Regions from separate parts of the Homo sapiens genome. Here regions 1 and 2 are each linked to region 3. Evidence: promoter capture Hi-C in 16 types of primary human blood cells and fetal thymus (Javierre and others, 2016). All regions are on one chromosome and are shown on one strand. The core of a region is centred on a gene start or on the middle of the fragment in contact, and the rest is flanking DNA. Distances in the headings are between cores, read along the strand shown.

Region 1 (2,700 bases), core at 130-2,629, 790 kb after region 3:
GAAAAGATTTCTACCAATTTTAGCAAGACATTTGTGTCTTTAAAGCAACTTAGCGTGAACTAAAAGGGTGGGAATGGAGTCAAGAGCCTATAAAAATTAGAACCCTCCCCCAACAGATTCAGCCTTTCTCCCCAAACTTTCACGTGTTTGACAAAAGGAAAATGTCTCTGGGCTGAAAAATATGTGTGGTAGATGTATACTCAACATTAATCTTTAAAGTATCCATCTTTTCATTTGCCACAAGCATCTGGGGACACTTACTTTCACTGTTGTTGTCTTTTCTGTTTGTTGGCTTACTTTTTTAAGGATTTCTATTAAACCTTGTTCTGATACCTAGGAGAACCAGAAAAGATAAGAAAAACAGTACTTTTTTAAACAAAGAATTTACCTCTGCAGATGGAATCACTTTGTACTCTTTTTGAGGTGTGGGGAAAGAGCTCAGGAAGGAAGCAGTGGTGAGGCAGGAGGTTGAAACTATTGGTTATAACTATTGGTTTAAGTTCCAAATAAAATTTGCTCTGCTATTCCTCACTTGAGAAGGAGGGGGAAGTATCCATAAAATTGCTTCCTCAGGAAAACTGAAAGCTAACATATTTAAGAACACCTTTATCATCACTAGCTGAGTGTGACAACCACATATACCACGGTGTTTGGTGTCAGGAATAGACACACCACTTCTGCCCGAGAAGCTTAAACATCCCCTTGAAGGAGGTAAGTCACACTCGGAAAAGATCAACCCAACCAGCTCTCTCCCACACAAGCAGTTCTCAGTGTGAGGGGTTTAGGGGACAGGACCAATTCGGGTAGGCTGTGGTGGTAGCAGACGGCTTCTCAGGGCAGGTGGGGTTCGTCTTGATCTCAAAGGCCAGGTTTGCCACAACATACCCCTCATGGTATTACAGCAACACAGAGAACATAAGCAAGGCATCTTAGCACCTTCTCATCTGCAAAACACACCTTCTACTTACACTGGTAGTATTTTAATTGGTGTTACTGACAAACCTTGCTTCCAGTGCAGGGGCAATTGAAGCTAGCTGACCCTAACAGTCATTGGGTCACAGACACCAACAAGGTTCCAGAGCAACGCCAGGAAAGGAGCGAAGCAGAGGAATTTAGGAAAGGCAATTTATTCTCTTTTAAAGTAGGTATGACTATTCTCTCCAACAATTTCTTCTGAGAGTCAGCAAGAATTCTGTAATCCAGTGAAGATGCAGCTGACCTTTTGAAGCCATGTTTTGATAAAGCAGGTAACAGTAAAGTTCCTCAAGGCTGTCTAAGCTTACCTTCTCACTTAGTTGTCCATATCTTGCCATCTGTATAAGGTAATTCTCTACTGCTTTAGTTTTTTCAGGCTTTACAAGTGCTAAGTTACTTACTAAAAAGAAAAAATACATATGCAAAAAATCCATTAAAATCAAATGCACTTATGTTATACCTTAAAACTATGCATTGACCTTTCCAAAGCACTTCACAAGCTTGTCCCTCAGTGTAGGGCAAGACAGTATTGTTACTCCTCTTAAAAATGAGAAAACTGAAGTTCACCCATGCCAATCTCCACATGGGCACATGGGGGTAGTGGCCCAGCCAAGATTAAAGTTGGGTTCTCAGATTCTAAGCACCATGCTTCCTGTTTCTTAAAATATATGACTGCCCTCTGGAAAGCGGTTTATCTATTACACATAATGGTGGTGATCCACCTGTGGCCGCCTTTTCTACACTCAAACTGGGCTTCCAGTTAAAATACAGAAAATACCAGTTCATTCTGACTGTCTCATTTTTTCTTTCTACAGGTTTTGGTTTTTATGATGAACAACTCTGAACATACACTAAAACTGACAATACATATAAAAAGCCCCTAAGTCCCCCATCCCCAGTCCCCATCACCAGTTGACACAAAATGTCAACTACCAGCAACATTTTGTGATTGGCCCTATGAGTTGTTTCCTATAAATCTTACCTAATACACACCTGGAGAACATCTTGGTAAGAGAAGTGACCTGGTACTTTTACTAGGGATTAAAGTACAGTTCTCTAGGTTTATAAACTTCACACTTCTTACACATCTCAAGTGTTTTCAGCCTAAGCAAATATTTCATCTAGTGATAGCAATAATGGTATCTAATCACCCCATTCAACTAACTCAAGCTAACTTTATGGAAATGAAATCAAAGATGCTTACACCTGGCCCGGGCCGACTGATCCAGAACTTGGGCTAAGATACTGTTTCTCATTTCTGCTTCCCTACAACGAAAACATAGGTCAAACACAATTAAAACACAGCTGTCGGCATTCCCATGTAACATACGAGAAAGAACCCATCCAGTATGTGTCTCCACATGGGGCCTGCGGTATACAAACTGCATTATGGTAGTTGCTGTACATAAGGCTGCAGCTACATTCAAGTAGAATCCCCTTTTGCCCTCAAAGAACCAGCTTTATATTACACAGGTGACAACCTACCAGGCTGGAAGGTGAGCTTTACAGTTTCATCAGAGTGGAGCCTCAGTTCAAACACCATCACCAACATTTCTTAAGTACCTATTGCGTGACAGGTGCTAGAAATTTATAGTGGGATTTCAGGCAATTAGAAGGACCATGTGACTAATCTATATCATTTTCTTAGAGATAAAGCTGAGATCCAGGAGGCTATGCTAAAGAGACATAGGTAACTGTGGCCAAGCTACAGCCAGATTCCATGTT
Region 2 (2,700 bases), core at 80-2,579, 760 kb before region 3:
TTAAAAATTAAAAAAAATAGAGAAGGGGCTTTGCCATGTTGCCCAGGCTGGTCTTGAACTTCTGAACTCAAGCAATCCTCCTGCCTTGGCCTCCCAAAGTACTGGGATTACAAGCGTGTGCCACCATACCCAGCCAAGGATGCTTAATGTCATTAGATAAATAAAAATTAAACCTACAGCAAGATACCACTACATACTTTTAGAATGTCTAACAAGTGTTGGACATATGGATCTAGAACTCTCATTCACTTCTGGTGGGAATGTGAAATGGAATAACCACTTTGTGTTTTTCTCTTTTTTTTGAGATGAGTCTCACTCTGTCACCCAGGCTGGAGTGCAGTGGTGTACTCTCAGCTCACTGCAACCTCCTCCTCCTGGTTCTCCTGCCTCAGTCTCCCAAGTAGCTGGGATTACAGGCACCCGCCATCATGCCTGGCTAATTTTTGTACTTTTAGTAGAGACAGGGTTTTGCCCTGTTTGCCCGGCTGGTCTTGAACTCCTGACCTCAGGTGATCCGCCTACCTCAGCCTCCCAAGGTGCTGGGATTACAGGCATGAGCCACCATGCCTGGTCTGGAACAACCACTTTGAAAAATAGTTTGGGTCTATGGCCATATCACCCTAAACACACCTGATCTCATCTGAAAAAGTTTGGCAGTTTCTTAAAAAGTTGAACATACACCCACTGTTTGACACAACCATTTCACTGCTATTAATCCAAATAAAAGGGTACATTCATACAAAGACTTGCACACCCATGTTGATAGAAGTTTTGTTTGTTATAGCCAGAAACTGAAAAGTGAACAATGGAGGAATGGATTTAAAAAATTGCAGTATATCAATACAATGGAATTCTACTCAGCAATGACAAGAAATGAACTACTGATCTATTCAGCAACATGGGTGAATTTCAAAATAGTTAAGCTTGACTGTGTAACTTCCAGACCAGTTTTATCTGGCCATACTTTCTTGATAACAGGATGTCTAATTATTTTGCAAGCACAGAGCTAAGAAGTGAAATCGTACCCCAAAGGGTTAAACAGGTGACTAACAGGAATTCTTTTTTTTTGAGATAAAATTTTGCTCTGTCCCCCAGGCTGGAGTGCGGTGGTGTGATCTCAGCTCACTGCAACCTTGTCCCGGGTTCAAGCGATTCTCCTGCCTCAGCCTCCGGAGCAGCTGGGATTATAGGCGTCTGCCACTATGCCCAGCTAATTTTTGTGGTGTTAGTAGAGACGGGATTTCACCATGTTGGTCAGCTGGTCTCGAACTCCTGACCTCAGGTGATCCAGCCACCTCGGCCTCCCAAAGTGCTGGGATTACAGGCGTGAGCCACCACACCCCGCCAGGAATTCTTGAGCTTACATGATGGCAGATAAGACAAGAAACATTTTGCAGAAACTCCCTTTAATTATAAGAGAACGAAACTGGCTGAAATCAGTTGGAACCAACATGGCCAACTGGAGTCTGTGCAGAAAGAGGCTGCTGACATCACAGTCTGAACTTCCGCAGCATGTTCCATATTCACTCTCGCATCCTGGATTTGCACATGCAACCCATCAAGAGACAACTGTGCATGCCCAAGGACTTTCCAGACCTCCCCTTTCTTTCTACCTGTTGATCCCTAACTCATCCCCTAAACCTTCCTAATAAATGTACTGCCTTAAGGCCAGCATGGGGAGATAGACTTGATCTGGCCTCCTGTCTCCTTGCTGGTCAACTGGCAATAAAGCTTTCCTTTTCTCAAAATCTCATGCCATAGTATTGGCCTCTATGCTCATCATGAAGTGACCCCTTGGCCTCAGTAACTGTCCTCTACCCTGAGAAAAAGCAGATAGTATATGATTCCTTAACATATAATTCTACAGGACGCAAACTAATCCACGGTGACCAAAAGCAGATTCACTGTTATCTGAGGGACTGATACGGTAGGCTGTGACTGGGAGGAAGGATTATAAATGAGCAGAAGGAAACTTTTATGTTCATTCTCTTGATTGTGGTGGTGGTTTCAGGGATGTATACACACATATGTAAAAGGCAAACTGTATGCTTTAAATATGTACAGGCTTTACACCAGCACTTCAATAAGGCTGTTTAAAATTTTAAAAGGTGTGGGAAAGAACACAGGCCACACATGTGGTGGTGGAAATGGCCCAGGCTTTGCTATTAAAGTTGCGCTAGTGTCCTTTGTCAAGTCACTTAGAACTCTCAGCTGCAAAGATAACACCGCCCTGGCAGGGATTAAGAAATAGTGTACAGGCCAGGCGCAGTGGCTCACACCTGTAATCCCAGCACTTACGGAGGCCGAGGAGGGTGAATCACTTGAGGTCGGGAGTTCAAGCCCAGTCTGGCCATTATGGCAAAACTCTGTTTCTATTAAAAGTACAAAAATTAGCCAGGCGTGGTGGCAGGCACCTGTAATCCCAGCTGAGGCGATCACTCGAATCCGGGAGGCAGAGGTTGCAGTGTGCCGAGATTGCGCCACTGCATTACAGCTTGGGCGACAGAGTGAGACTCTGCCTCCGAAAAAAAAAAAAAAAGAAGAAAGTCAAGAAAAAAGAAATAGTGAACAGGCCGGATGCGGTGGCTCACGCCGGTAATCCCAGCACTTTTGGAGGCCGAGGTGGGAGATCTTTTGAGCCCAGGAGTTGGAGACCAGCCTGTGCAACATAGTGAGACCGCCCCCTCTACAAAAATGTCA
Region 3 (2,700 bases), core at 51-2,550:
CTTATCCCAAATACTACTCAAGGGCTAACAGATGACCACATCTTAAATATCAAGAGCTTCTAGGTGTAGAATGTCTTCGTAAAGCAAGCCCTTATAGGATTTTCTTTTAAAATTTTCTCTGGGAGTCACATTTCTTTGGGAGAAGTCTGCCTTAAGTGACAACCTATTCATATAAGCAGTCAATTCTGACACAACTACCAATTTTGGTGTCACCCATCAACATTGAGACCTTTCTAAATCTTATACATTTCAGGATGCCAGATTACAGTATAAACTTCAAACAAGAGGAAAACCCAACACGTAAACCTGCGGAAGAGAAGCAACACACCAGCTGCCCTGGAAAACACTCTCCTCCCCCCGCGACACATGCATTTCCATCCTTCGCATCTGGTCACCTCCGCTGGCTGTCGGCCCTGCTCCGCTCCCTCCAACTATGCCTGCGAAGTGCTTCATTTCTTCTCTATTCGACCCGTAGGTGTTGCGTGTTCTTCTAAACTACGTTCAACAGTAAAGTGCAGGACATTCCAACAGCTCCACAAAGAAGCAAAATATTATCTCTGCAAAGTCATGCATTTAAAAACCAGTTGCTTTCCCTATTTTATTGATCAGTCTTTGAACTTCTGAACAGATTTTCGATCACCGCAAGCTGAGCCCTTCTAGAAGATCAGGATTCTAAAGCTCGACTCGGTCCACCTTCTGCTATTCTGGGAACACCCTTCATCCCCAGGGGCCAATGCGAGCCTGGCGGGTCACAGCGCCCGTTTCACCGAGAGGGGGCCGGGCTCCGCAGGGGGCATTCCCCGGCCGTTCGCGCGCTCCCGGCCCGCCGCGAGGGGCGCCCCGGGCAGCGCGGGGGTCGACGGGCGGCGCCGCAGCGCTGGGCCGCGGCCAGGAATGAGCTCAGCGTCCCCGCCGGGTGTTGCCGGCAGGTTGCATCAGACGCCGCGCGGCGCCGCCGCCCGCGCCTCCAGCCTCGCGTGGCCTTCCCGGGCCAGCGGGCCGTCTGGGGCCGGGGCTGGGTTTCCCCGAGCCGGGCCCGCACCCAGTCGAGCGGCCGGCGTCGCCGCGGCCTCCTCCTCCCCGTTCTCAGGGCGCCCGCCGCAGCCTCCTTACCTGCTCCTCTAGCCCGCCTGCCCCCAGGCGGCCTCCACTCCGAGCGGCCCCGCGCGGTGCGGCCCGAGCCGACCCAGGCCTCACAGCCCGCGAGTCAGCGAGGAGGAGCGACGGTTACGAAACCGGCAGCCTCCGCCCGTTCCGCAGCCGCGGCCACCGGCTTCCCCTGCTCGCCGGGGCCGCGCGCGCCGCCGCCGCCATCCCGGCCAATGGGAGCGCCGGCCTGCCGGAGGCACCGCCTTCTCTCGCGACGGGCAGCCCAGTCGACCAATCGTGGGCAGGCTGGCGGCGGGAGGCGGGCCCACGGTGGGGGAGTGGGTTCCGCGCGGCTGGCTCGGCGGGTGTGGCGGGAGCAGGGAGCTGCTTGCTGCGGCGTCCGCGGTCCCTAGGCAGCTCGCCCGGGCTGGCGGCGGCCTAGTGCTGTGGACGACTCAAGTTCGAGTCGGAGGCTGAAAAGCCGTCACCTTGTGGAGGCCAGACGTGCCTTTGGAAGCATTTTCTGAGGTGGTTTTGTGAACCACCGGCGACTGTTTTGGTTTCGCCGCGTCCCTTGGAAGCCCCCGCGGCGTCCCTCACAGAGTTTCTGCGAACGGAACGCCCCGCAGGCGGGCGGGCTTTGTCGCCGCAAAAAGAGTGGAGGCTGACGCGGTGGCTCCCGCCTATAATCTCAGCGCCGAGGGAGGCCGAGGCGGGAGAATGGCTTGAGCCCAGGCGTTGGAGAACCAGCCTGGACAACATAGCGAGACCCCATCTCAGTTACTAATTTTTAAAAAATCGAATGAACCCAGATGTTTCACACATAGGATTAGCATTGATGTCACATGGGTGAAATCCATGTGCTGCAGGCTGTGCTTTGTTGTTAGGGTGAGATGAAGTGAATTTCTTAAAATGATTCTCTTTGGGTGCCTTCCAGGTGCATGGGTGCGAGGTGATCTCTGAAAATAAGCAGCGATCCAGTGTGACTTAAAACTCGCCAGGAGAACCCGAAAGCGTTTTTTTTTTTTTTTTTTTTGAGACGGAGTCTCGCTCTGTCGCCCAGGCTGGAGTGCAGTGGCGCAATCTCGGCTCACTGCAAGCTCCGCCTCCCGGGTTCACGCCATTCTCCTGCCTCAGCCTCCCAAGTAGCTGGGACTACAGGCGCCCGCCACTACGCCCGGCTAATTTTTTGTATTTTTTTAGTAGAGACGGGGTTTCACCGTTTTAGCCGGGATGGTCTCGATCTTCTGACCTCGTGATCCGCCCGCCTCGGCCTCCCAAAGTGCTGGGATTACAGGCGTGAGCCACCGCGCCTGGCCCCGAAAGCGTTTTAACACCAGGAAGCAGCAGCTCGCTGGGCGGAGGGCAGAACTCGCCTGATAGGTTTAATTGCTTCCTCTTTAGCAACGCGTATCGTTCAAACAATTGAGGCTTTGAAAGAGGAAATGTTTCTTCAGCGCCCATGGAACCGGCTCGCCCCGTAAGATTGTTTCGAGGAATCAGTAAGATGATAAAGCAATAAATAAAAATTAAAAGGGGTCACAACGGTGAACAATGGGCTGGGCGCGGTGGCTCAGGTCTGTAATCCCAGCACTCTGCGAGGCCGAGGCA

The links. The method cuts DNA at HindIII sites, captures the fragments that hold promoters and counts their contacts. A CHiCAGO score of 5 or more calls a contact.
Region 1: a fragment that was not itself captured here is called in contact with the fragment with the promoter of CEBPG in region 3 in 1 of 17 cell types (fetal thymus); the score reaches 5.0 in fetal thymus.
Region 2: a contact is called between a fragment that was not itself captured here and the fragment with the promoter of CEBPG in region 3, in 2 of 17 cell types (M0 macrophages and total B cells). The highest score is 6.5, in M0 macrophages.

The regions. Positions count from the first base shown.
Region 1 is chr19:32,584,491-32,587,190 of GRCh38, reverse strand. PDCD5 (programmed cell death 5) reads right to left here. Exons shown (of 6, transcript NM_004708.4): 3 at 2,180-2,241; 4 at 1,284-1,375; 5 at 262-333. Among named protein-coding and RNA genes, the nearest start is that of PDCD5, 4.7 kb to the right of the region's middle. The HindIII fragment of the contact is 197 bases long and covers 1,281-1,477 here.
Region 2 is chr19:34,135,245-34,137,944 of GRCh38, reverse strand. No RefSeq gene overlaps it. Among named protein-coding and RNA genes, the nearest start is that of LSM14A, 36 kb to the left of the region's middle. RefSeq lists an enhancer at 2,658-2,700. The HindIII fragment of the contact is 808 bases long and covers 926-1,733 here.
Region 3 is chr19:33,372,309-33,375,008 of GRCh38, reverse strand. CEBPG (CCAAT enhancer binding protein gamma) reads right to left here and starts at 1,300. Exons shown (of 2, transcript NM_001806.4): 1 at 1,114-1,300. RefSeq lists a silencer at 704-1,513. The HindIII fragment of the contact is 8,186 bases long and covers 1-2,700 here.